7 separate regions of the Homo sapiens genome follow, and all the other regions are linked to region 4. The links are contacts of gene promoters, found by promoter capture Hi-C in blood cells and fetal thymus (Javierre and others, 2016). All regions are on one chromosome and are shown on one strand. The core of a region is centred on a gene start or on the middle of the fragment in contact, and the rest is flanking DNA. Distances in the headings are between cores, read along the strand shown.

The links. The method cuts DNA at HindIII sites, captures the fragments that hold promoters and counts their contacts. A CHiCAGO score of 5 or more calls a contact.
Region 1: a contact is called between a fragment that was not itself captured here and the fragment with the promoter of GAPDH in region 4, in 5 of 17 cell types (non-activated CD4 T cells, activated CD4 T cells, naive CD8 T cells and 2 more). The highest score is 10.4, in non-activated CD4 T cells.
Region 2: a contact is called between a fragment that was not itself captured here and the fragment with the promoter of GAPDH in region 4, in 7 of 17 cell types (activated CD4 T cells, non-activated CD4 T cells, naive CD8 T cells and 4 more). The highest score is 12.1, in activated CD4 T cells.
Region 3: a contact is called between a fragment that was not itself captured here and the fragment with the promoter of GAPDH in region 4, in 3 of 17 cell types (activated CD4 T cells, naive CD8 T cells and naive CD4 T cells). The highest score is 6.7, in activated CD4 T cells.
Region 5: a contact is called between the fragment with the promoter of C12orf57 here and the fragment with the promoter of GAPDH in region 4, in 2 of 17 cell types (activated CD4 T cells and non-activated CD4 T cells). The highest score is 8.2, in activated CD4 T cells.
Region 6: the fragment with the promoter of LRRC23 here is called in contact with the fragment with the promoter of GAPDH in region 4 in 9 of 17 cell types (non-activated CD4 T cells, total B cells, activated CD4 T cells and 6 more); the score reaches 10.0 in non-activated CD4 T cells.
Region 7: a fragment that was not itself captured here is called in contact with the fragment with the promoter of GAPDH in region 4 in 3 of 17 cell types (non-activated CD4 T cells, naive CD4 T cells and naive CD8 T cells); the score reaches 10.1 in non-activated CD4 T cells.

The regions. Positions count from the first base shown.
Region 1 is chr12:6,972,358-6,975,968 of GRCh38, forward strand. It overlaps EMG1 (EMG1 N1-specific pseudouridine methyltransferase), which reads left to right. Exons shown (of 6, transcript NM_006331.8): 2 at 1,982-2,083; 3 at 2,195-2,336; 4 at 2,733-2,791; 5 at 2,872-3,021; 6 at 3,339-3,611. The coding sequence ends at 3,452. Among named protein-coding and RNA genes, the nearest start is that of EMG1, 3.2 kb to the left of the region's middle. The HindIII fragment of the contact is 838 bases long and covers 1,943-2,780 here.
Region 2 is chr12:6,925,006-6,929,086 of GRCh38, forward strand. It overlaps ATN1 (atrophin 1), which reads left to right and starts at 2,954. Exons shown (of 10, transcript NM_001940.4): 1 at 2,954-3,379. LOC124902868 (a long non-coding RNA gene) reads right to left here and starts at 2,691. Exons shown (of 2, transcript XR_007063194.1): 1 at 2,522-2,691; 2 at 1-1,120. RefSeq lists enhancers at 1-138, 839-1,538 and silencers at 2,563-2,612, 2,793-2,952. The HindIII fragment of the contact is 151 bases long and covers 2,181-2,331 here.
Region 3 is chr12:7,013,406-7,017,010 of GRCh38, forward strand. The region is part of intron 1 of LPCAT3 (lysophosphatidylcholine acyltransferase 3); the gene reads right to left. Among named protein-coding and RNA genes, the nearest start is that of LPCAT3, 3.3 kb to the right of the region's middle. The HindIII fragment of the contact is 980 bases long and covers 1,150-2,129 here.
Region 4 is chr12:6,533,170-6,536,864 of GRCh38, forward strand. GAPDH (glyceraldehyde-3-phosphate dehydrogenase) reads left to right here and starts at 1,348. Exons shown (of 9, transcript NM_002046.7): 1 at 1,348-1,400; 2 at 1,641-1,692; 3 at 3,325-3,424; 4 at 3,515-3,621. The coding sequence starts at 1,664. It overlaps GAPDH-DT (GAPDH divergent transcript), which reads right to left and starts at 1,238. Exons shown (of 2, transcript XR_002957397.2): 1 at 295-1,238. RefSeq lists enhancers at 1-353, 354-1,127, 1,128-1,901, 3,450-3,695 and silencers at 530-779, 1,500-1,639. The HindIII fragment of the contact is 4,237 bases long and covers 1-3,037 here.
Region 5 is chr12:6,942,145-6,946,100 of GRCh38, forward strand. C12orf57 (chromosome 12 open reading frame 57) reads left to right here and starts at 1,878. Exons shown (of 3, transcript NM_138425.4): 1 at 1,878-2,029; 2 at 2,332-2,508; 3 at 3,627-3,858. The coding sequence starts at 1,978. The coding sequence ends at 3,778. RNU7-1 (RNA, U7 small nuclear 1) reads left to right here and starts at 1,672; the gene lies at 1,672-1,734. ATN1 (atrophin 1) reads left to right here. Exons shown (of 10, transcript NM_001940.4): 10 at 1-177. RefSeq lists enhancers at 1,686-2,265, 1,765-1,954, 2,255-2,374, 2,266-2,845, 2,385-2,534 and 3 more and a silencer at 2,168-2,427. The HindIII fragment of the contact is 10,579 bases long and covers 1,817-3,956 here.
Region 6 is chr12:6,902,219-6,906,071 of GRCh38, forward strand. It overlaps LRRC23 (leucine rich repeat containing 23), which reads left to right and starts at 2,604. Exons shown (of 8, transcript NM_001135217.2): 1 at 2,604-2,857; 2 at 3,367-3,541; 3 at 3,627-3,736. The coding sequence starts at 3,416. The HindIII fragment of the contact is 20,869 bases long and covers 1-3,853 here.
Region 7 is chr12:6,138,273-6,142,113 of GRCh38, forward strand. No RefSeq gene overlaps it. Among named protein-coding and RNA genes, the nearest start is that of VWF, 16 kb to the left of the region's middle. The HindIII fragment of the contact is 753 bases long and covers 1,588-2,340 here.

The sequences.
Region 1 (3,611 bases), core at 1,112-3,611, 440 kb after region 4:
TCTCTGTGACATTACTTCAACTATTCAATTTCAAAATCTACATCCCTTTTTTCGCAGACTTTTTGGAGCCATATATCTCAAGAATGTTGCTAGACATATACATTCCAGTGATACATAAAAACTTAACCTTCCAAAACTTGTATTTGTATATAACAGTTTGTTTTTAGACTTTTTACTGACCACCCTAATGCTCCTTGGGACTCCAAATTGCAACTTGGAATTATTTCTTTTAGCTGCTACAGATGTAGTCCACTTCTTTAACATCAAACTTCTGATGTCTTTTCCAGTGTACAGAGAGTTGTTAGGATAGTGTCTGTCAGTCATTCCCATCCTGCCCTGCTTACTCCAGAATTATTTTTGGCTTTGTGCTTGATACATTAGGATTCTGTGGTTTACAAAGCAGCTTCATATATAATCACTGCCCTTTAGTGTCTCAGCTCCCAATTTTCCTCAAAATTTCCTTTCTTCGTTTCCACTTTTTCTTTTTTGTTTCTTTTTTGAGATAGGGTCTTGCTCTGTTGCCTGGGCAACAGAGTGCAGTGGTGTGATGGTTCACTGCAGCCTCTACTTCCCTGGCTCAAGCAGTCCTCCCACCTCATCCTCCTGAGTAACTGGGACTGCCAGCAAATGGCACTGCGCCTGGCTAATTTTTTTTTTTTTTTTTGTGAGACAGGGTCCCACCGTGTTGCCCAGGCCGGTCTCAAATTCCTGGGCTCAAGTGATCCTTCCACCTCGGCCTCCTAAAGTGTTGGGATCACAGGCATAAGCCACCACACCTGGCTACTTTGTCTTGATTCCATCTGTACCTTTGCTCATGCCAGTCTTTCTTTTTTCTTTTTTTTGAGACAGGGTCTTGCTGGAGTGCAGTGGTACAGTCTTGGCTCACTGCAATCTCTGTCTCCTGGGCTCAAGCCATCCTCCCACCTTAGCCTCCCAAGTAGCTAGGACTACAGGCATGTGCCACCATGCCCAGCTAATTTTTGTATTTTTAGTAGAGATGGGGTTTCGCCATGTTGCCCAGGCTGGTCTTGAACTCCTGACCTTAAGTGATTTGCCTGCCTTGGCCTCCCAGAGTGCTGGGATTACAGCCGTGAGCCACTGCATCTGCCCCCATGCCCGTCTTAAAACTGGGAATAACCCCTCTTCCTTTTACTTCTGAGAGTTTTCTTTGATTAAACTGCCTCCTGCATCATTAGTTTTCACATTTCTTTTTTTTGAGATGGAGTCTCGCTCTGTTGCCCGGGCTGGAGTGCAGTGGCGCTGCAAGCTCCGCCTCCTGGGTTCATGCCATTCTCCTGCCTCTGCCTCCCAAGTAGCTGGGACTACAGGCGCCTGCCACCATGCCCGGCTAATTTTTTATATTTTTAGTAGAGATGGGGTTTCACCGTGTTAGCCACGATGGTCTCAATCTCCTGACCTTGTGATCTGCCCGCCTCGGCCTCCCAAAGTGCTGGGATTACAGGCGTGAGCCACCACGCCCGGCCTTCACATTTCTTGTTCAGATTTGCAGCTCTTCACTTAGTGCATGTTTGGTGTACGCAAACTGAGGGTGGTGACTCGATATTTTGCACAGTACCTACTTACTGCTCCTGTAATAAACACAGCATTCAGCCTTGCTAACTACTAACTCCTGCCTAGTTCCAGGATGTCTCATTGGCCTTGCCTAACAGCCACAGGTTTTTTAATTAAATCCAGTGTATTAGTAGATAATGTGAAGTCACAGGTTGTGCCCTTCCTCCTGTTTCCCTCTCAGACCATTCACTGGGGAGTGCAAATAAGGCTGCACAGTAATCCCCCGAAGGGCTTGCTGGGCTCCACCCCCAGTGTTCCTGGTTTAGTAGGTCTAGGGTGGGCCTGAGAATTTGCCTAACAAGTTTCCAGGTGCAGCTGCTGCTGGTAGTTTGGGGACCACACTTGAAGAACCACGGGGCTAGGTAACAGAAGCTTATGCTGTTCTCTCGTCATGTTCCCTGTTCTTCAGGTAGGGAAGACATATGAGCTACTCAACTGTGACAAGCACAAGTCTATATTGTTGAAGAATGGACGGGACCCTGGGGAAGCGCGGCCAGATATCACCCACCAGGTAACTCCAGGGACAGTGCTCACAACCCTTTGAGCCTCTGTATGGAAGGGTTGGCAGCTGAGTGCTGCCTCTCTTCAGCCTTAACCATGTCTCGGTTTCTGCTTTGCTCAGAGTTTGCTGATGCTGATGGATAGTCCCCTGAACCGAGCTGGCTTGCTACAGGTTTATATCCATACACAGAAGAATGTTCTGATTGAAGTGAATCCCCAGACCCGAATTCCCAGAACCTTTGACCGCTTTTGTGGCCTCATGGGTAAGAAGCCTTAGAACAAAGTTAGAATGAACTTGTCAGTAGGGAAGAAGGGAGGAAGAGGAAAAGGGAGAACTAAATGTGGATTTTTAAGCGAGAAAATGGGAGAACAACATGATTAATACCAGGACAAGGACTGTTATTATTTTTCTATGTTTGTGGAAACTCCACTCCTGTTCTTGCAGTAGCTTCCTGGCTGAGTGAAAGAGGGAGTCTGAACCCATCACTGTACAGCTAGCCATATGCTTGGCAACTGTTTGTTCCTAACATTTCAGGAGTCCAGTCTAGATATAAAGCACACAGGGAACTCATCTTATCCATGGGGTTTTCCTTGTTCGATGACTGGACAGAAGGACTGTGGTCTCCATCTAGCTCTGAACTCTTTTTTCCCCCTTCTAGTTCAACTTTTACACAAGCTCAGTGTTCGAGCAGCTGATGGCCCCCAGAAGCTTTTGAAGGTGAGGTATTGAAACCTGTTAGTTGAAGGCTGGTTCTGGGAATGTTTCTGGGGCTGACTTTTCTCTCTTTTTTACTTTAGGTAATTAAGAATCCAGTATCAGATCACTTTCCAGTTGGATGTATGAAAGTTGGCACTTCTTTTTCCATCCCGGTTGTCAGTGATGTGCGTGAGCTGGTGCCCAGCAGTGATCCTATTGTTTTTGTGGTAGGGGCCTTTGCCCATGGCAAGGTAAGGTCTGGGCTCAACCCTGAAATTCTTGGTAGAGCTGAACTTAGTATAGAATTCCCAGAGCAGTAGGCATTTTAACAATGCTTACAATGAGCTAGAAGACACATGACAGTTCCACACCCTGCCCCAGGGCACATCCTTTGAGGGCTGCTGCCATAATTGGAAGTCACAGTTAGGACCTTCTTCATCCTTTGTAGGGATTTGATATTCAACAGCACAGCTGAAATACTAGCTCAGCCATAGTTTTCCTGCCCTAAAGAAGGGCTGAAACAGCTACTGAGTGACAGAGTTGGCTGACAAAACTGTTCTTTTCTTAGGTCAGTGTGGAGTATACAGAGAAGATGGTGTCCATCAGTAACTACCCCCTTTCTGCTGCCCTCACCTGTGCAAAACTTACCACAGCCTTTGAGGAAGTATGGGGGGTCATTTGACAGTAGTAGAACCTGTTCTGAAACCAGAAACTGTTGATGTCACATCCTTTGACCCTGGTCTGAGCTGACTGCTGGAAGATGATCTTTCTGCACTGAGACTGTGGAGTTTGGGGAAGCCAAGGCTGTACATTTGCTATTTGTTTATCCTATGAATACTGT
Region 2 (4,081 bases), core at 1,006-3,505, 390 kb after region 4:
CTTCTCTCCACTTTCCCTTTGTGCCGTTGCCTGGAGACCAATGGGTTGTGGGGGGCTGAGCCAGAGAGGGAGCTGGGGTGAGGGATGGCTGGGGCTGTGTGTGTGCGTGTGCGTGTGTGTGTGTGTGTGTGTGTGTGAGAGAGAGAGAGAGAGATGTCCCCTGCAGCTGGACTATAAGCCTGGCCCTCAGGTAGGGGAGGAATGGGAGAGGGTAGACAATGGTTTCTTTTGTGACTCTCACCATCCCCTATCCCCACATATGCCTAAATTTTTCTTTTAGTATCCATTGTAGCCCATTCCTTAGTGATTAAAAAACAAGGGAGAAGAGCTCAGCCTGGAAGGGATTTGGAAAGGGCTTGAGCCAAGGCCCAGTGGGAGACTGAACTGAGTGGTACAGAAAGAGAGGAAATGCCATGGGGAGAGAGGGTGAGAGGGAAAGGGGGAGCCCTGGAACAAAGTCAGGGGTGGGGAGGAGCAGCAGCTACCCTAGAGCAAGAGGAAGGGAGTCGGGGTGCACAGGGAGACAGGGAGCTGGCCTGGTCTCAGGGAGGCCCTGGGAGGAAGGTGTGCTTGGAGTGGTAAAGTGAGTGCCAACCAATTCAAGGGACTTCAGAGTGATGACTCATTCCCAGGCCAAGGAAGTGTTCCTGTTCCTGCGCCCAGTTCCCCAGTGCTCTGGAATCTTGTTTAGAGCTTTTGAGTATTCCCAGAACTTTGTTGAATCTGGCCCAAGGAATTGTGAGACAAAAATCTACTGAGCTGCTCCAGAGCTAACCTCCTTCCTTCCCTGAAGGCAGGTGGGATCTTGCCAATTCAGGGCCCACCCTTAGCCTCCAGCAAGACTGGCCCCACAAGTACCCGACCCCCACCCCAAATCTGGAGCTCTACTGAGGGCTCCTAATCCACACTCCAGCTCCAGCTCTTCCGGCTTGCCAGCCTGCCTCCCTCCCATTCTCTGGCCTTCCCAATTTCTGCTGCCAAAAATCACCCTGTGTCCTTTGTCCTGGGAGATGTTGCCGCTTGGTGGAGGGCCAGGAGGGAGCCCAGGAGAAGGAACTGGTGGTGGGCTGGCGGAGGTGCTGGCTTCACGGCCGGGAGCAGACTGACTGCCAGAGGCTACCTGGAGAGCAGGGGAGGGAGAGGAAGGGTTGGGAGGAGCCTGCAGTCTGTGGTGGGGACTGTCTCCACCTTAGAACAAGTGGGATTGAGCAACAAGGATACCCAGGGATTTGGGTCCACATTAAGCCCAGTCTTCACCCGACTGCTTCCCTGTGACCCAGGGGATCTTTAGTGATGACTTTCAACAGATTTGAGAAGGAAAATGGAGATGCCACTAGATGGAAGGCCTGAGGATGGTGTCTCACTCCTCCAAGCTGTATCCCTTACCTATCTACCCATGAGCTTGCCAGCAACCTCCCCCCGCTCCCACATCTGTCATTTCCTTTAACTGCCCTCGTTTCCCATCTCCATTTTTTCTTTTTTTTTTTGAGACGGCGTCTCGCTCTGTCTCCCAGGCTGGAGTGCAGTGGCGCGATCTCTGCTTGCTGAAACCTTTGCCTCCCAGGTTCAAGGATTCTCCTGCCTCAGCCTCTGAGTAGCTGGGATTACAGGCATGCGCCACCACACCCGGCTAATTTTTGTATTTTTAGTAGAGACGGGGTTTCGCCATGTTGGCCAGGCTGGTCTTGAACTCCTGACAAGTGACCCACCCGACTCAGCCTCCGAAAGTGCTGAGATTACAGGCGTGAGCCCCCGCACCGGCCCCATCTCCATTTTCTTTTCCCATCCATGATCTTTCCTCTTCCATACTGCCGCCAGCCATAGGCCTTGTTCAGCTTACATTTCCTTCCAATCTTCTTATCCCCCTCTTCCCCATTCTGCCCGCCCAAGTAAACCCTCCTCGGCTCTACTGGGAGCCCCCACCCCCAGGATCCAGCCAGCCCGGTGTCTCCCACCCTTCTTTCCCATCCAGAGCCCTCCTTTCTCACCCAGAACCTATTTTCCCTAGAATTGGCACCTGGGCCCACCTCGTTCATCCCTTCTTAAGGTTCCTCACGCGTTCCCTCCTCTCTCTCCTCACTGACGTTTCCTCTGGACTTCTCTCTCTCCAGCATTCCTTCATCCCCCCACCCCCAATTCTTATATTTATGACTCTTTTGTCAACACTAATCACCCCCAAAAGCTTTACTTTTTCCAGAAGCCCCATCTTTCTATATATGTCATCTTTTCAATTTTTCTCTCTCCTTATGACCCCAAACTTCCATCCCATTCTCTCTGATAATAGCCCCCAAACCCGTCTGGCTCCATCTCTGCCACAGATCCCTCACCCCAAGCTTCTCTCACTTCTCACCAGGCACCCACAAAGCCCCCAGGCAGCTCCATCTTTCCAATCCAATCCCATTATCCCAATCTCTACCCCAGGATCCCCCAAACTCCTCCCACTTCACCTCTGCCACAGACCCGCTCGCCCCCAAACTTCAGCCTCCCCTCATCTGCCCTCACCACCCACAGCCCCTCCTACCTAGCCCTCTCCCGCGCCGGGCCCGCGGGCTCCCCACATTCCGCCACGGCTAGCCCTCCCCGCGCCCCGGCCCCCTCGGCCTCGGCCTCGGCCAACTCGCGCTGCGCCTCCCCCTCTCCGGCTCCCCCTCTCTCCCCCCTCGCGGCTTGCCTCGCGCTCCCTCCCTCGCGTCTCCCTCCTGGCCCCTCTCTCCTCCGTTCCTCCGCGCTCCCTCCTTCTCCCTCTTCCTCCCTTCTCCCATCCCCCTCTCCCAGGCTCCCTCCCTTCGCCGTCCGCTTTCCTGTGCGAGTCGCCGGACGCACCGCCCAGCCCGTCCGCAGCCCCGCGCCGGGTCGGGGCCTCGGGCCGGGCCATTTCGGAGGGACCGCGGCTTCGGGGAGGGGCTAGGAGGGGGGAGAGGGAGCCGACTGCCGGGGAAGGGGCGGGGGCCGCGGGCGAGGCGGCCGAGGGGCCCGGGATCGCGCGGGTGCGGGCTGCGCTAGGCGGGCGCGGGCGGCGGCGGGTCGGAACCGCGCCGAGGGCCGGGCGGGCCGCGGGGCCGGGCGGCGCGGCGGGGGCGGGCGGCGCGGCCCGGGGCATTCCGGGCGGCCAGGGGGAGGCGGCGAGCCCGGGGAGGTGGGGAGCAGAGCGGGGATCGGGGTTTGCTCCGGGGGCCGGCGGGCGATTGGGGCCAGGCGGGGAAAAGGGGGGATGGGGGCCGCCCTCCGGGGGGGTCGGGGCCGCCGCCGCCGTCGTCGCGGCGGCGACTGAGGCCGAGAAGAGGAGAGGGGGGCGGGGGAGCTGCCGCCGCCGCCCCCCAGAGGCGCCGGAGCCCGGAATCCCGCTCGGAGCCAGCCAGCCGTCCCGAGCTACCAGCAGGTAAGGTCTGCGGCCGCCTGGGCCCCGGGCCCGCGGGGTTCTGTCCCGCCCGGGCTCCGGCCTGCGGCTCCCCACCCCCACCCCTCCCAGTTCCCCCTCCTGCCGCCGCCGCCTCCATTTGTTATTTTCCCAATCCCGTCCCCCCACTGCGGGCTCTGCCTGGCCTGAGGGCCGGGGGCTCAGGGGGTGGGGCCCGCCGAGGAGAGTCGGGGGCCAGGGTTTCGGGAGGATCGGGAAGGTGGGGAAGGAGGGAGGGTCTCCGGAGGAGGCCTGTGGGGCCAGAGGGTATCCGGGACCCGCAGACTCAAAAGAGGAGGAACATCGAGGCCGGGGTTGGCGGAGGAAAACGGGGGATGCTGTGAGTGGGGTTCCGGGCGAAGGCAGAATGGATAGGAGAGATGGCAGCGAGGTGGGGCATGAAGCCTCCAGGAAAAAGCTCCAAAGGACCAGAACACGGGTTCCGGAGCCTGGGGTTGGGGGCTTTAGGAATAGACGGGAAGTGGGAAACGGGAAAGGGGTGTGGTAGGTGGAAAGAGGGATTGTGGCTGATGAACCTGGGGGAGACGGAGGCTTGGGCAAAGAGAGGTCCATTTTTGAGAAGAGCCGGAGGTTTTCCAGCGTGGAAGAGGGAAGGCCATGTCTTTGTGACGGTTTTCATTCCCCTACTGCAGGTCACCTCTGACCCTGTTTTCCCTATCCCAG
Region 3 (3,605 bases), core at 390-2,889, 480 kb after region 4:
TGGAGAGTGGACTGAGGGGGCAAGAACAGAATTAGAGACTAGTCAGGAGGCTACTTGGGTGGTGCTGGTGACAGATGGTTAGTGGCTGTGGTGATGGAGAATAGTAGATGGATCTGAGACACAATCCAGAGGTTGTATTGATAGGATTGGGTGACTGGGATGTGGGGAGTGAGTGAAGAAAGGCAACAAAGCTGATTCTTGGGTTTCAGGCATGAGCAGCTGTGTAGATGACTGTGTCTACAGAATCTACCTTTCAAAAGGTTCCGGTATTCCTAGACCATCTCACAGGAGATGCCCACTTTCTCCTCTCAGCACAGCCACCCTGCCTCCAAGTCATTATAACTTCCTCTCTAGATCACTTCTTTCTCCTTAGTTTCCCTACTACTTGTCTATGCTGACTTCAAATCACCCCAGGCTGTATTATCTTTTTAAATACAGCTCCAGCCATATTATTCCCCACTCAAAAATCTCCAATGTTCCCTATCACCTACGTGAGTACTAACTCTTTACCTTGGCTTTAAAGGCTCTTTAACCTACAGTTCCAGCCTGATTTTCCATCACTTCTTTAAAGTCCTGTTTTAGTCACACTAGACTACTGACTGTTCCTTGGCTGTGTTGCCACATTCACACCTCAGTGCCTCTGCTCATGCTATTCCTTAAGTCTTACCATCTCAGCATGCTGAAACCTTACTCATCTTTAAATGAAATGTCCCATCTTTAAATCTCACAAAGCTCTGTACCTCTCTTATGGTGCTTAAAATTTATTGGGGTTATTAGTATACTTATCTCAGGCCCATTTCCTATACCCTAACAGACCATAATACCTTTGAGTGCAGGGCTCCTGACTCATACTACACCCACTGCTCCTGCCCTTGCAGGGTTAAGAATACTGCTTTACCTGTAGTAGGTGCATGTTACTGAATTTATATGAGCAATTCATGGTATTAGTTACATTAAGGAGTGATGAGATCCAAGCTGTTGAAGGGGAGATGTTTTCTGGTAGTATTTGCCAGCACCAGGGCTCATGGCAAAATTCCTCTTCAGCATCCTTCCATCAAACTCCTTGCAAGCATACACCACACAAACATAAACACACTCCTTTTACAGTCTTCTGACTGCTCAAAATACTCCAGTGCAGCAGTCCACATAAGCTTACTTTTTCTTTGAAGTATTGAATATTAAAAATTGCAGCCTCGGCTGGGCGCGGTGGCTCATGCCTGTAATTTCACGCCTGTAATTCCAGCACTTTGGGAGGCCGAGGCAGGTGGATCACGACGTCAGTAGATTGAGACCATCCTAGCCAACATGGTGAAACCCCGTCTCTACTAAAAACACAAAAATTAGCCGGGTATGATGGCGTGCACCATAGTCCTAGCTACTCAGGAGGCTGAGGAGGAGAACTGCTTGAACCTGGGAGGCGGAGGTTGCAATGAGCCGACATCGAGCCACTGCACTCCAGTGTGGGTGACAGAGCGAGACTCCGTCTCAAAAAAAAAAAAAAAAAAAAAATTGCAGCCTCTAACTCAAGATTTTTCAAACTGTTGTAACTCATTAACAAGTCATGAAATCAACTTAGTGAGTTATTATTAAGGGCAAGTATTCTTTCCTGAAACTTGTTTCAAATACGTGTATACACATACAAGTCTGTGTGTTCTGGGTCACAATGTAAAACATATTTCTTACGATGGATCTTAGTCAAAAAGGTTTAAAAGCCAGTGCTTTAATGCTCTGCATTCCACCCCAAGATCAGCACACAGAACTGAAGTAAAAAAAGTAAGATGTTAAGAAAATAGTAATTAGACTATCTGATTAAAACGTACACTTGAAAATGTGAATGATATACCTAACTCTTCCCTTGGGGTATTTGCATTTAGGGAGGTGTTTTTAACCTGAATTAATCTAATCAGTGGAAAGTGAACCAGAAATCATTTTGGACTACAGGCTTTCTTGGTACCTCCAGCAAGGATTTCCTCCAGTATCCCAGTTCCCTGAGAGAGCTGGGTTCAAGAACCAGGAACTCCACTGCTGAAAGGCTACTGGTTTCTAGGTTACAATACACAGAAATGGTAATAACCTTTGTAAGGGAAACATATTTACAACCAAAATGCACTCCTACCACGCACACATCAAGCTTAATCAATTTATATTTATATGTATGTATTTAAACTGTGCCTACTAGGAATACAATCCTACCCGTCCACATGATGAGCTATACCTGATAGGAGGCAAGTTGAAGCCCCAAGTTGATCTAAAAATGAGAAATACTATGAATTACTGAAGGCAACAGGGTATGTGAGATAGGAAGGCAGGGTGTGGGAAATGGTAGAATGAGCAAGGGGGCTCGGGAGTGTGGTAGATGCATTACACCAAGTGTTTATTACTTTGATGATTGGTGGTAATGAGAGAAGATGAGAGAAGAGGAGTGGGATATGGAGAAAACAATTTCCTAGTCATCTGTATGCCCCGTGACAGTACACAGCAATAGCCCAGCAGGAGTGCACAGGCAATATGTGATTATGTCAACAAACAAAAGTTGAATTCTTTATGTCAACAAACAAAAGTTGAATTCCAAGTCCTAATTCCAGCCCTAACTCCATTTAACAGATTGCCCCTTATAACTGGTTGCTACTTGTGTTACATTCTGAATTTATTGTTGAGAAACCAACAGTTTCCTAACTAATGAATGTAATACAATTTTTTTTTTTTTTTGAGACAGGGTCTTGCTCTATCCTTCAGGCTGGAGTGCAGTGGTGCCACGGCTCACTGTAGCCTCAAACTTCCAGGCCCAAGTGATCCTCCCACCTCAATCTCGGGAGTAGCTGGGACCACAGGCATGGCATGAGCCACCACGCCCAGCTCATTTTTTTATTAATTTTTTTTTTTTTTTTGGAGACAGAGTCTTGCTCTGTCACCCAGGCTGGAGTGCAGTAGAGCTAACTTGGCTCACTACAACCTTCACCTCCAGGGTTCAAGTGATTCTCCTGCCTCAGCCTCCCAAGTAGCTGGGATTACAGGTGCCCACCACCATGCCCAGCTAATTTTTATACTTTTAGGAGAGATGGGGTTTCACCATGTTGGCCAGGCTGGTCTCAAACTCCTGACCTCAAGCGATCTGCCCACCTTGGCCTCCCAAAATGCCAGGATTACAGGCATGTGCCCCTGCGCCTGGCCTAATTTTTTGTAGAGACAAATAAAATGTTGCCCAGGCTGGCCTCAAGCGTTCCTCCCACCTTGGCCTCCCAAAGTGTTACGATTATAAGCATAAGCCGCTGCGTCCTGTCAAATGTAAACACTAATTGCTAATTACAATGTCAAAAATAACTGGGTCAGAAACAAGGATGAAAGAGTAGGAAGTTCAAAGCTGGTGTAGTGCAAATAAGCCTAGACTAGGGTGCTGATAAATTTGGATGATGTCTGGGTGACACTGAGCAAACTGCACAACCCCAGTTCCATTCCATCTTTAAAATCTTACGATTCCACAGAGGAAGAAAAAGGTGATCTTTATTTGGAAGAAAGGAAGATCTTGGTTTGATATGTAATAGGAAAGTAACAATGCTATTAGGCAAGGTTGTTTAAATATGAATTAATGCCTATCCCATTATCTA
Region 4 (3,695 bases), core at 98-2,597:
CAGGCTAAACTTAGCAACCGGCTTTTAGCTAGAAGGGCAGGGGGCTGGTGTCAGGTTATGCTGGGCCAGCAAAGAGGCCCGGGATCCCCCTCCCATGCACCTGCTGATGGGCCAAGGCCACCCCACCCCACCCCCTTCCTTACAAGTGTTCAGCACCCTCCCATCCCACACTCACAAACCTGGCCCTCTGCCCTCCTACCAGAAGAATGGATCCCCTGTGGGAGGGGGCAGGGGACCTGTTCCCACCGTGTGCCCAAGACCTCTTTTCCCACTTTTTCCCTCTTCTTGACTCACCCTGCCCTCAATATCCCCCGGCGCAGCCAGTGAAAGGGAGTCCCTGGCTCCTGGCTCGCCTGCACGTCCCAGGGCGGGGAGGGACTTCCGCCCTCACGTCCCGCTCTTCGCCCCAGGCTGGATGGAATGAAAGGCACACTGTCTCTCTCCCTAGGCAGCACAGCCCACAGGTTTCCAGGAGTGCCTTTGTGGGAGGCCTCTGGGCCCCCACCAGCCATCCTGTCCTCCGCCTGGGGCCCCAGCCCGGAGAGAGCCGCTGGTGCACACAGGGCCGGGATTGTCTGCCCTAATTATCAGGTCCAGGCTACAGGGCTGCAGGACATCGTGACCTTCCGTGCAGAAACCTCCCCCTCCCCCTCAAGCCGCCTCCCGAGCCTCCTTCCTCTCCAGGCCCCCAGTGCCCAGTGCCCAGTGCCCAGCCCAGGCCTCGGTCCCAGAGATGCCAGGAGCCAGGAGATGGGGAGGGGGAAGTGGGGGCTGGGAAGGAACCACGGGCCCCCGCCCGAGGCCCATGGGCCCCTCCTAGGCCTTTGCCTGAGCAGTCCGGTGTCACTACCGCAGAGCCTCGAGGAGAAGTTCCCCAACTTTCCCGCCTCTCAGCCTTTGAAAGAAAGAAAGGGGAGGGGGCAGGCCGCGTGCAGCCGCGAGCGGTGCTGGGCTCCGGCTCCAATTCCCCATCTCAGTCGTTCCCAAAGTCCTCCTGTTTCATCCAAGCGTGTAAGGGTCCCCGTCCTTGACTCCCTAGTGTCCTGCTGCCCACAGTCCAGTCCTGGGAACCAGCACCGATCACCTCCCATCGGGCCAATCTCAGTCCCTTCCCCCCTACGTCGGGGCCCACACGCTCGGTGCGTGCCCAGTTGAACCAGGCGGCTGCGGAAAAAAAAAAGCGGGGAGAAAGTAGGGCCCGGCTACTAGCGGTTTTACGGGCGCACGTAGCTCAGGCCTCAAGACCTTGGGCTGGGACTGGCTGAGCCTGGCGGGAGGCGGGGTCCGAGTCACCGCCTGCCGCCGCGCCCCCGGTTTCTATAAATTGAGCCCGCAGCCTCCCGCTTCGCTCTCTGCTCCTCCTGTTCGACAGTCAGCCGCATCTTCTTTTGCGTCGCCAGGTGAAGACGGGCGGAGAGAAACCCGGGAGGCTAGGGACGGCCTGAAGGCGGCAGGGGCGGGCGCAGGCCGGATGTGTTCGCGCCGCTGCGGGGTGGGCCCGGGCGGCCTCCGCATTGCAGGGGCGGGCGGAGGACGTGATGCGGCGCGGGCTGGGCATGGAGGCCTGGTGGGGGAGGGGAGGGGAGGCGTGTGTGTCGGCCGGGGCCACTAGGCGCTCACTGTTCTCTCCCTCCGCGCAGCCGAGCCACATCGCTCAGACACCATGGGGAAGGTGAAGGTCGGAGTCAACGGGTGAGTTCGCGGGTGGCTGGGGGGCCCTGGGCTGCGACCGCCCCCGAACCGCGTCTACGAGCCTTGCGGGCTCCGGGTCTTTGCAGTCGTATGGGGGCAGGGTAGCTGTTCCCCGCAAGGAGAGCTCAAGGTCAGCGCTCGGACCTGGCGGAGCCCCGCACCCAGGCTGTGGCGCCCTGTGCAGCTCCGCCCTTGCGGCGCCATCTGCCCGGAGCCTCCTTCCCCTAGTCCCCAGAAACAGGAGGTCCCTACTCCCGCCCGAGATCCCGACCCGGACCCCTAGGTGGGGGACGCTTTCTTTCCTTTCGCGCTCTGCGGGGTCACGTGTCGCAGAGGAGCCCCTCCCCCACGGCCTCCGGCACCGCAGGCCCCGGGATGCTAGTGCGCAGCGGGTGCATCCCTGTCCGGATGCTGCGCCTGCGGTAGAGCGGCCGCCATGTTGCAACCGGGAAGGAAATGAATGGGCAGCCGTTAGGAAAGCCTGCCGGTGACTAACCCTGCGCTCCTGCCTCGATGGGTGGAGTCGCGTGTGGCGGGGAAGTCAGGTGGAGCGAGGCTAGCTGGCCCGATTTCTCCTCCGGGTGATGCTTTTCCTAGATTATTCTCTGGTAAATCAAAGAAGTGGGTTTATGGAGGTCCTCTTGTGTCCCCTCCCCGCAGAGGTGTGGTGGCTGTGGCATGGTGCCAAGCCGGGAGAAGCTGAGTCATGGGTAGTTGGAAAAGGACATTTCCACCGCAAAATGGCCCCTCTGGTGGTGGCCCCTTCCTGCAGCGCCGGCTCACCTCACGGCCCCGCCCTTCCCCTGCCAGCCTAGCGTTGACCCGACCCCAAAGGCCAGGCTGTAAATGTCACCGGGAGGATTGGGTGTCTGGGCGCCTCGGGGAACCTGCCCTTCTCCCCATTCCGTCTTCCGGAAACCAGATCTCCCACCGCACCCTGGTCTGAGGTTAAATATAGCTGCTGACCTTTCTGTAGCTGGGGGCCTGGGCTGGGGCTCTCTCCCATCCCTTCTCCCCACACACATGCACTTACCTGTGCTCCCACTCCTGATTTCTGGAAAAGAGCTAGGAAGGACAGGCAACTTGGCAAATCAAAGCCCTGGGACTAGGGGGTTAAAATACAGCTTCCCCTCTTCCCACCCGCCCCAGTCTCTGTCCCTTTTGTAGGAGGGACTTAGAGAAGGGGTGGGCTTGCCCTGTCCAGTTAATTTCTGACCTTTACTCCTGCCCTTTGAGTTTGATGATGCTGAGTGTACAAGCGTTTTCTCCCTAAAGGGTGCAGCTGAGCTAGGCAGCAGCAAGCATTCCTGGGGTGGCATAGTGGGGTGGTGAATACCATGTACAAAGCTTGTGCCCAGACTGTGGGTGGCAGTGCCCCACATGGCCGCTTCTCCTGGAAGGGCTTCGTATGACTGGGGGTGTTGGGCAGCCCTGGAGCCTTCAGTTGCAGCCATGCCTTAAGCCAGGCCAGCCTGGCAGGGAAGCTCAAGGGAGATAAAATTCAACCTCTTGGGCCCTCCTGGGGGTAAGGAGATGCTGCATTCGCCCTCTTAATGGGGAGGTGGCCTAGGGCTGCTCACATATTCTGGAGGAGCCTCCCCTCCTCATGCCTTCTTGCCTCTTGTCTCTTAGATTTGGTCGTATTGGGCGCCTGGTCACCAGGGCTGCTTTTAACTCTGGTAAAGTGGATATTGTTGCCATCAATGACCCCTTCATTGACCTCAACTACATGGTGAGTGCTACATGGTGAGCCCCAAAGCTGGTGTGGGAGGAGCCACCTGGCTGATGGGCAGCCCCTTCATACCCTCACGTATTCCCCCAGGTTTACATGTTCCAATATGATTCCACCCATGGCAAATTCCATGGCACCGTCAAGGCTGAGAACGGGAAGCTTGTCATCAATGGAAATCCCATCACCATCTTCCAGGAGTGAGTGGAAGACAGAATGGAAGAAATGTGCTTTGGGGAGGCAACTAGGATGGTGTGGCTCCCTTGGGTATATG
Region 5 (3,956 bases), core at 628-3,127, 410 kb after region 4:
ATCGTGTGCCACCCCTGCCCCTCCCCGATCCCTGTGTGCGCGCCCCCTCTGCAATGTATGCCCCTTGCCCCTTCCCCACACTAATAATTTATATATATAAATATCTATATGACGCTCTTAAAAAAACATCCCAACCAAAACCAACCAAACAAAAACATCCTCACAACTCCCCAGGAACATGGCTGTGACTATTCTTTGCGGGATATGGGGGTGAGGCTGGGTCTCAGTGCAGCGGTGCTTAGAGAGAACTGCAGCCAGGGCCTGGCAGGGAAGCGGGAAGAGACCAGACCTTCTTAAGGAACGGGGTGTGGGGGCTGGGAAGAATTGGAGAGGGGATCCCTGAAGAGCCCAGAGCCTTGACTCAGCTGGAGGCGGTACCATGGGTGCTGGTGCCCCCTCCTGCCCCAAGGCTGGGCAGGACCGCTGCGCGCCAGTGGAGGCCTCGGTCTGGGCTCTGTGGCTTATGCCTGTGAGACGCGGGTGGATTGCTTGAGCCCAGGAGTTGGAAACCAGCTTGGGCAACATAGAGAAACCCCATCTTAAGACAAAATCAGCTGGGGGTTGTGGTGCACTTGTGGTCCCAGCTACTCAGGAGGCTGAGGTGGGAGGATCACTTGGGGGTCGAGGCTACAGTGAGTCATGATCGCACCACTGCACTCTAGCCTGGGTGACAGAGCAAGGCCCTATCTCAAAACAAACAAACAAAAGACACCCCAACCAACCAAACACTAGAGGCCTGGGACAGGCCCACCTCTGACGTGGTCAGTTCTAGGAATCTATTCAGACGGGTCTCACTGCTAGGAGCCACCAGAGTCCTCCGGAACAAGGGCTTCAGAGTCCTGAAACCTTTCCGTGGAATACTTTAAGAAACGGTTATGAGGCCAGGCGCGACGGCTCACGCTGGTAATCCCAGGACTTTGGGAGGCCGAGGCGGGCGGATCACGAGGTCAGGAGTTCCAGACCAGCTTGGCCAACATGGCAAAACCCTGTCTCTACTAAAAACAAAACATTAGCTGGGCATGGTGGCGCGCGCCTGTCGTCCCAGCGACTTGGGAGGTTGAGGCAGGAGAATCGCTTGAACCCGGGAGGTGGAGGTTATGGTGAGCCAAGATCCCCCCCAGCTGCACTCCAGCTTGGCGACAGAGCAAGACTCCGTCTCAAAAACAAAAAACAAAGCCGGTTATGAAGCGGGGGTGGGGTGGGCTAGTTTTAATAGGTCCAGGCGATTAGTACCTGGCATCCTTAACCACCTACAGTTTGAGAAGGGAGTGGGTGATAAAAGCCTGGAAGGGAAGGGAAATCGGGCCGGGCATTAGGCTCCATCGCTCATCAATAGACAAGGCCTTTAGGAAACTGCGACAACGGCTTTTGCTCTGGGCCTTTACTGCCGAATCCAGGTCTCCGGGCTTAACAACAACGAAGGGGCTGTGACTGGCTGCTTTCTCAACCAATCAGCACCGAACTCATTTGCATGGGCTGAGAACAAATGTTCGCGAACTCTAGAAATGAATGACTTAAGTAAGTTCCTTAGAATATTATTTTTCCTACTGAAAGTTACCACATGCGTCGTTGTTTATACAGTAATAGGAACAAGAAAAAAGTCACCTAAGCTCACCCTCATCAATTGTGGAGTTCCTTTATATCCCATCTTCTCTCCAAACACATACGCAGCAGTGTTACAGCTCTTTTAGAATTTGTCTAGTAGGCTTTCTGGCTTTTTACCGGAAAGCCCCTCTTATGATGTTTGTTGCCAATGATAGATTGTTTTCACTGTGCAAAAATTATGGGTAGTTTTGGTGGTCTTGATGCAGTTGTAAGCTTGGGGTATGAAGGTTTGGGCCACGCCTGGGCGCTTCCGGCTGCGCCGGATGCTGTTTCCTTTCCGCTCCCAGGGGCGTTGGGAACGGTTGTAGGACGTGGCTCTTTATTCGTGAGTTTTCCATTTACCTCCGCTGAACCTAGAGCTTCAGACGCCCTATGGCGTCCGCCTCGACCCAACCGGCGGCCTTGAGCGCTGAGCAAGCAAAGGGTGAGAATCGTCCTAGTCAAGGCATAGGCTGCTGGCCTGGGGTAGTCAAGGCATGGGCTGCTGGTCTGGGGAGGATGCGGGCGGAGGATGTGGGGCGACAAACCTGGCTACGTCCGCCGGGAAAATGGGGTAGGGGACGCCGGGTACCGTCCTTCTAAGTGGGGCGCTTGCCCCCAAGACTTGGGATCTTATTGGGTTACCTACAGCCTCAATCCACTAATTCCTTGCGCTCTCCGCTGGGCCCGCTGTCTGTTCTCCGACGCCTACCCGGGACGCCTCCCTGGGATGCTTCTGGCGCGCAGTGGTCCTCGCGGAGGTGATCCAGGCGTTCTCCGCCCCGGAGAATGCAGTGCGCATGGACGAGGCTCGGGATAACGCCTGCAACGACATGGGTAAGATGCTGCAATTCGTGCTGCCCGTGGCCACGCAGATCCAGCAGGAGGTTATCAAAGCCTATGGCTTCAGCTGCGACGGGGAAGGTGGGTCAGACGCGGGAAGGCGGGTCAGACGCGGGAAGGCGGGAGTTGGGTCGGGAGAGGGCGCCGGATCTGTGGGCCCATGAGCGGTTGTCCCCTTTCTCGCCACACGGCGGCAGCCACAATCTGACTAACATTCTTGGCACTCAGAGCCCAGGGTCTACCCTGAGCTTGTGCGTCCGAGTTGCGTTTTGTACAGTAGAGGTTCTGTATCCCTTACCCGAAATGGTTGGGACCGGAAGTGTTTCGGGTTTTTTCAGATTTCGGAATATTTACATATACATGGATATCTTGGGGGATGGGACCTAAATCTGAACACGAAATTGTTTTGTTTCATATACACGCACCTTATGCACATAGCCTGAGGGTAATTTTATATAATAGTCTGAATAATTTTGTGCATGAGACAAAGTTTTGACTGCGTTTTGACTACAGTCTCCCCCACCCCCCACTATGAAGTCAGGTGTGGAATTTTCCATTTTCGGCCTCACACTGGCACTCATAATTTCAGATTTTGGATTTTCTAATTAAGGATGGTCAACCTGTACTGTTAATCACATTATTATTCCATTTTGTGATGAGGAAGCAAACTCTAATGGTGCAGACTCTCGAGTAGCAGAGCTGGACTTAAATGCTGTTGTGCCACCTTTTAGTGACATGTCTGCATGACAGCAGTGGCTGCAGTCTCTCCAGGGTGTTTCAGCTAATTTTTGTTTGGGGGGGGTTGGTGGTTAAATTTTTGGTGAGATCCTGGTGTTCCCCAAAGGTGTTGACTGATTCAGCTCTGCTGCCTCATAGCCTTCCTGAGTTCCAGCTACAGACCTGGGGTCTCGTGTTCATTCTTGGGGTTCCAGTGACTAAACTGCTAAAATGGTTCACCTGAGAGCAAGAAGCACACTGCCTTGGGACATTTTCATTCACTGCATCCCATCTAGTTGTGCCCAGTGTAGACCAAATGTCATCATCCAAACCACACGGGACAGAGGCCTGCATGCGTCCTGTTTGGCAAACAGCTGCCCAGCCAGTGGGGGAGCAGTTCATGCTTAGACTACCACCCCCTCCAGGTGTCTTAGGCACGCTGGTCCTTAGGAGAAGGGTTGACCTTCCACTCCCTCTTGCAGGTGTCCTTAAGTTTGCTCGCTTGGTCAAGTCCTACGAAGCCCAGGATCCTGAGATCGCCAGCCTGTCAGGCAAGCTGAAGGCGCTGTTTCTGCCGCCCATGACCCTGCCACCCCATGGGCCTGCTGCTGGTGGCAGCGTGGCCGCCTCCTGAGAGTTGGCCCTCCCTTGTGCCACTGCCAGGGGAGGAAAGGCCTTGATGTTCCAGACAATAATAAATGCGCCTGTGACTTAGCCTTGGTGTCAGTCTCTTGCGGACCTGACAACCCCCATCTCTCCTTCCCTGATTCCCTCTGCCTTTCCAGGCCCCATCCCCCTGAACAGCTCCTCCC
Region 6 (3,853 bases), core at 1,354-3,853, 370 kb after region 4:
CCTAGGCCTCCTGTATTAAAGCGATTCTGCTGTCTCAGCCTCCCGAGTAGCTGGGATTACAGGTGCGAGCCACCACCCCAGCTAATTTTTTGTATGTAGAGACGGGGTTTCACCATATTGGCCAGACTGGTCTCAAACTCCTGACCTCAGGTGATCCACCCGCCTAGGCCTCCCAAAATGCTGGGATTACAGGCGTGAGCCACCACGCCCAGCCTAAATATTACTTTTATAATTGAAAGAGACTCTATCTAGACCAGCCGATGGGGGAAAAATATCAAGGATGTTGTGGAGTATCTAGCTCTCATTACACAGTGTAACTTCAGTCCTTGCCAACTAAACACGAAATAAAACCTTCAATAGCTCCCCACAGCTTTCAGGATAAAGTCCAGATCCTTCAGTGTGATCCAAGTCTGTTTACTGCTTCTACCATATTCCAACCCCCGACTGCACCTACTGTTCCAGCCAGCAGAACCACCTGCTTTCTTTGCACAGGCATTGAGCTCTTTCTTCTCCAAGCATTACCACAGGTGATTCCTGCCTCTGAAATCTCTGCCCCGAATATATGATATCATGTATATGCATATACTATACAATGATCCCTAGCACTTAGTAAAAGCTCTATAAATGTTGGGTATGATTATTATAACATGTCTCATTATATTGAATTACTTGTGTACTTAATCTTGTCACTGAACTGTACACCTCTTGAAGATAAAAGATAAGGACTTCTGTGCTTTACTGTCCCGGAGCACAGGGACAGATTAAGTGCTTAACAAAAGCATGGCAGGGCGCAGTGGCTCATGCCTATAATCCCAGCACTTTGGAAGGCCGAGGCGGGCGGATTGCTTGAGCCCAGGAGTTTGAGACTAGCCTGGGCAACATAGCAAAACCTTGTCTCTACAAAAAATACAAAAAAATTAACTTGGCATGGTGGCGCACACCTGTAGTCCCAGGTACCCAGGAGGCTGAGACGGAAGGACTGCTTGAGCCCAGGAGGTGGACGTTGCAGTGAGCTATGATTGCTCCACCGCACTCCATCCTGGGCGACAGAGGGAAACTCTATTTCAAAACAAAAATAAAAACAAAATAACAAAAGTGTATGTTCAAGGACACCTTCCTAACCCTTACATCACAACTTTTCTTCCCATCTAATGTGTCTTCCTCTTTCTTCTTGGCCAAGGAAACTCATATCCATTTCTTTTGACTACATCAAACCACATGGATTTTTCCCTTCTCCACACTCCAACAATACAATAACTTTCATTTGTATAGCACATCTCACTCTTCAGAGTGTTCATATTTATTATTTCTTTTTCCTCACAGCAACCCCAGTACCAAGGACACAGGCCAGGGGTGGGGAGGAGCAGGAAAATGTTTACTAAGGGTCAACTAAGTGCAAGGCGATTTACCCACATTATCTCTTTTAATCCCTTAACAATCCTTACAGGTGGACGTTTTAATAATCCCCATTTCACGACTGTGGAAATTAGACCTCAGTAAGATTTCATAACCTGCTGAAGGACACACAGGTATTAAGTAGTAGAGATGGGTTTTGAAGCTGGTGTCTCTGACTTTAAAGTCCCTACTGGTTCCATGACACCAAGTAAACAGATTTGCCTATTAACCACATTCCTCCAAGCTGCCCTGGGCAGGAGGTAATATAATACTTCCTGATTTCTTGCCCACCACATCTTCCACCAGACCACTTTGCCGTTATATAAAGTCTGTGGGCACAATTTAACAATGAATCACATGCCATCTTACCTGGTTACCTCATTGTTTCATTTACATTAGATTCCACAACAAGATTGGTAACATCCCCCTTTCCCCAGGCAGGAATTGTGTCATCTTAACCTCCCTGAGCCTCAGTATCCTCTTCTTTCAAATGTCTATCTTACAGGACTGTTGCAGAGATTAAATATCAGTTGTAAAGATGTTTGACATAATGTCTCGCACAAACTCTCCAGAAATATTTATTGCATCTCAACATCTTTTTCATCTCCTTCAACATGTCAGACAGGCCTGAGTGCCTGGGTTTGGCTATGCCAGTTCCTGTTGATTACTGATATAACAACGTTGGATCAGGAGTATTTTAGTGGGCAGATGTTGAATTTTCTGCCTTCCACCCACTAAAAGGTTTGCATCAAACCAGTCCAGGATAACTCATACTGGATCCCTGTCAGTTGATATAGTTAAGCTAATTCTACAGATAACAAAGAGTCTTGGGTACGTTTAGCTAGCAAATGCAGATCTGCCAAGACTCCAACCCAGTTCTTAAGGTATCTGGGTCTGGACTCCTTCCGCTCCACCAAGCCACCTTCCAAAGGTCTACCTGAAAATAACTAATGAGCAGAAACTATAGGGGGAAGGGGAAAAGACCCCTTATCTTGGTGTTTCTTGCTTTTCCTCGCAGCCCCGCCCTTTTTGCTTCGAAGGACGAGTTTTTCCTGAATTCACAATACTTTTGCATTGAAGATGTCCGGTCCCTTTAAGGTCTTGGGTGACGTAATGACTAGCCCCGCCCCCTCTCTTCTCGCTTCTCAGCCCTGCCCACTTCTTTTTGTCCTCAGCCAATTAGCGGCCCAACGCCCCTTCCGCGCCTCATCCGGGTTCCCGGGACGGGAAAGTGGCGTGGTAACCAGGCAACTACTGATCAATCCCCTCCCCGGCTGATTTGCGCATCAGGTAGTCGCCGCTCTACTCTCAACGGTGGCGAGCTGCAGTTGCCAAGTGCCCCGTCCCCGTTGCCATAACAGCAGTACACAACCCCTCCTTCCCCTCGCCCGCTTGCTAAACAGTCCTTCCCTCTCGGGACCAAGGGCCTCTCCAGAACTGCTTCTGATTGAGCAGAAACAGGGTCTGAGCCCCTTTGCTAAGGCGAATTGAGTGGGAGGGTTGGAGACTGCGCTTTAGGCTGGTGTACCAGAGGGCCCAAGGAAATTGGCCCAGTGGGGAGGGAAAAGTAGAAGAAATGAATGGAGCAGGGATTACGGATGGCGCAATGGGAGCTGAGAGGAGAGGAGGAGGAATTGGTAGGGAAGATTGGAGAGCATGGCTTAAGGGGGAGGTGGGAAGAATGGGGGAGAGGGAAGCCCAGGAAATAGGGACACCCGGCTGCTGGAGGAGAGCTGGAGTCACTGTGAAGGACAGGAAAGGCCTGGGGGTGTGGGTGACATCCTGAAGGGAGGGGGTCCTCAGTGGAAAGTGTGAAGTGGGAGTTGAGAATCAAAATGAGATGTTCACAGGGATAAGGAAAGAAGCCTAGAGTTGGTGGGTCAGAAGTCATGGGGGTGATGGGAGTGGCACGTGTCAATGACGATGAAGGAGCTGAAGGCTGGCAGAAGCTGATGAGACCTTCTTTTTCAGGAGGAGGACTGAGCTTATCTGACTCCAGAGCTTTCAGGAGGGAAGAAAGATGTCAGATGAAGATGATCTAGAAGACTCTGAGCCAGACCAGGATGATTCTGAGAAAGAAGAGGACGAGAAGGAGACAGAGGAGGGGGAGGACTACAGAAAAGAGGGGGAAGAGTTCCCTGAGGAAGTGAGAGCCTGGACAAGGAGGGGTCCTAGGGCTGAAGGAGGGGGTTGGGCAGGGGAGAGACACCTTACTCCACTTCTACCTGCAGTGGCTGCCCACCCCCCTCACGGAGGACATGATGAAGGAAGGGCTTTCTCTGCTCTGTAAGACAGGCAATGGGCTGGCTCATGCTTATGTCAAGCTGGAGGTTAAAGAGAGGTGCGTTTTGGGGGGACCAGATGAGGACTGTGAGACTGTAGGGCCCCTATCTCCTTTCCCACTGTCATTCCTGGGTGTTCTGGTTGAGAGTTTGACTCTTCTCATGCCTAGTGGAAA
Region 7 (3,841 bases), core at 714-3,213, 390 kb before region 4:
CTGATTACAAAGTCCGTGTTTTCTCCACTATACCTATAACTCTTCCATAAGCCTTTTCTCCTTTCCTCCCACCCTTCACCCCCGCTTTTCCTGCCTTTGAACCACCTCTGGGTGCTTCTGTGGCCCTCTCATCTTTTCATGCATTTTTCTTTTTTTTGAGACGGAGTCTCGCTCTGTTGCCCAGGCTGGAGTGCAATGGCGCGATCTTGGTTCACTGCAACCTCTGCCTCCCTGGTTCACGCCATTCTCCCACCTCAGCCTCCCGAGTAGCTGGGACTACAGACGCCCACCGCCACACTCAGCTAATTTTTTGTTTTTATATTTTTAGTAGAGACGAGGTTTCACCGTGTTACCAGGATGGTCTTGATCTCCTGACCTCGTGATCTGCCCGCCTCGTCCTCCCAAAGTGTTAGGATTATGGGCATGAGCCACCGCTCCCAGCCTTTTCATGCATTTTTGTTTGTCTTATCTCCTCCAGTCTGAGCTCTCCTTAGAACAAGACCTTGCCTTACTCATCTCTGTATCTTCCAAAGTGCTCTGTCTGGAGCATAGCACATGGTAAGTGCTCCATAAATGTCTGTTGAACTCCCTGCTAGTAGAACAATGATGTGGGTTAATTAGCATATAATATTAAAATGTAGCTACAGAACTGAAACTGCAGATAAAAAAAATTGCTTAATACCCAAGGAAGTTGTTGCCTGCTCTCCAAATCATCAGCACAGAAGATAGCACTCGTCACTGTGGTTGGGGAAATTGCACGGTGAAAGTCACAGGATGGCTCTGCAAGGGGGCAGGGACATCAGACTGGGGTCACGTTCCCATGTGGTATTCTGCGCCTGTAACTCATATGACACTCTGGCACTATTTCTAAATAACACTCAAGTGTCTGTTTTATCAGAGTATAACACACTTGGCTGGAATAGTTCACTTACTGATATTCCACAATTTATGTAACCAGTTCCATATTATGGGATATTTATTTAGGTTAGTGCTACTTTTTTTTTTTTTTTTTTTTTTTTGAGATGCAGTCTCGCTCTGTCACCCAGGCTGGAGTGCAGTGGCGCAATCTCGGCTCACTGCAAGCTCCACCTCCTGGGTTCATGCCATTCTCCTGCCTCAGCCTCCCGAGTAGCTGGGACTACAGGCACCCGCCACTACACCCGGCTAATTTTTTGTATTTTTAGTAGAGACAGGGTTTCACCGCGTTAACCAGGATGGCCTCAATCTCCTGACCTCGTGATCCGCCCGCCTCTGCCTCCCAAAGTGCTGGGATTACAGGCGTGAGCCACCACTCCCGGCCTACTTTTTTTTTTTTTTAATTAACAATGCTGCAGTGAACATCTTTGAAGCTATATCCATGCACAACCCTCAGGATTACTCCCACAGGATGAAATCCTACATGTGGAGCACTGGGTCAGCCACCGTCCACATTTTCAGTGAGGCCTTTGACAATAAGGCCAAATGGCCCCCCTGAAAAATTGCAATGGTTTATAATGGTTGCAATGGTTTAATTACCCATTTGCTGAGTAGGATTTTGCCAGGTGAAAATGAGGGCAAAGGCACATCAGCTGCAAGGAAGGAAGTAAAAGCTTAGAAGCAGGCAAGCTCTGAGATGCTAAATCAGTAAGTAGGTGAATAAGCCAGTTGTTACAGCCTATAAAGGAGACTCACAGGAAAAGAGACCAAAGAGAGGAATAAGAGGCAAGTCCTCAGGGACCTTCAACCAGTGTAGGGGTTTATGTTCATCCTGTGACACCAGATGAGGCCCTCTGGCAGCAGTGGCATGTATTGTGAGAGGTCAGATGGAGAAAGGGAGATCCATTAGTGGTTGGTGGAACCTTCCCGGACAGGGAAGACGAGGGCCTGGAGGAGACCATGGGTTTGACAAGAGAAGAGCAGATACAGCCAACCACGTAACACATTACGGTAGCAGAAGAACAGCCAAAGATGTCTACATCCCATCTCAAACCTCTGAATGCTACCTTACATGGCAAAAGGGATTTTGCAGATGTGAGCAAGTTAAGGGTCTTGAGATGGGGAGATGATCCTGGCTTACCCCAGAGTATCCTGCTGGGCCGATATAATCACAAGAGTTTTTATAAGAGGAGCAGGAGGGTCAGCATCAGGGAAGGAGATGTGATGATGCGAGCAGAGGTCATGCAACGCGGGGCCACGAGGCAAGGAATGTGTGCCCCTGGAAGTGGATAGAGGCGAAGAACAGGTTCTCCCATAGAACCTACAGAAGGAATCCAGCTCTTCCAACACACCTTGATTTTGATCCAATTCGAGCTTCTTACAATTACGAATTGTAAGATAAATTTGTGTTGTTTCAGGCCACTAAGCTTGTGGTCATTTGTCACTGCAGCAATAGAAAACTAATATAGGCCAAGATATCATGCCACACAACCTGCTCCCTTGCCCTCATGGAGGGTGTCCCAAGGCAGCTTTGCCAAATAAGTTAGAGGACAATTAGTGCTGTGAGGCTCAAGGAAGAAGGATCCCTGAGGACCACAGTATGAGAGCCATTAGAACTTGGGCTGATGTAAACAGCATTAAGTACAAATGGGAAGGGTGCGTGACCTCTGGGGGCGCATGGGGCAGGGCTGCTCAGAGGCAGGGGGATGGGTAAATTGACCTCTGCCTGTCTGAGGAGTAAGTTCTCCAGGTAACTAGTACAAAAGCAAAAGAACCTCAGGGGAGGAAAGGTTTTCTAGGAGGACCCATCTTTGTCTTTTCTTTGTATATTTGTAGCATCTCTCTTACGTAAATTCTGCAGGAAAGAGAATTTTCTTGGCAGTATGCGCCAAATAAATAAACACAGCAGTATTTCTTAGGCCAGACGACCAGCTCCCAGCATAAAGCTGTAGCCCCCAGCGGAGAGGAAGCTGTCCTCCTCTACTTCCTCTCTTCTAAAGACAAACATCTTGTGCAAGAATAACATGCTCACTTCCTTCACAATCATCAAAATAGAGAGGACCCACCCACGCTACAATGTCAGAAGAATGGTGCAGCTTCAGACTCATCTTCCCTGGTTCTCAGGAACAATGACACCACATTATTGCTGCTATCGAGCTACAGAGAACTCAGACCATTACATCTGGTGGCATTCCTGGCCCCAGTAGTAGCACAGCAGGATTCCTGACCCCAGAATCACTATCTCAAGACCTGGGGTTCTAATTTGAGAGGCAGAAAGTTACAGCAACTCAAATTTATATGCATCTTACAAAATAGCTTCAAAATACATAAATTGACAATTGACTTCAAAAAGGCTTTCTCAATTATCCATAGGTCAGGCAGATAAAAATCAGTAAAGATAGAAATTTTAAAAACAATGATCAGCCTAGGCAACAAAGTGAGACCTCATGTCTACAAAAAAAAGAAAAAATTAGCCAGGTGTAGTGGCACACATCTGTCATCTTAGCTATTCAGGAGGCTCAGGCAGGAGGATTGCTTGAGCCCCGAAGTTCCAGGCTGCAGTGAGCTATGATTGCACTGATGCAGGGCAAGTAAGCTCCCAAATTGGGACTTAGCCCTGGAAGATTCTTGGCTTTGCTCAGGAAAGAATTCAAGAGCCAGCTGGTGGTAGAAGAAAACAGCTTTATGGAGGCAGCAGTGTGACAACTTTATGACTACTCCTGCAGAGCAGGGCTAACCCCTAGGCAATGTGTTGAGAGCACCAGCTCAGGGGCAGGTCAACAGTCATACATATACCCACTTTCAATTACTTGCAAGTTAAGGTATTGAGAGGTGACAGCGTGCTGGCAGTCCTCAGAGCCCTTGCTTGCTCTCAGCACCTCCCCTGCCTGGGCTCCCACTTTGGCGGCATTTGAGGAGCCCTTCA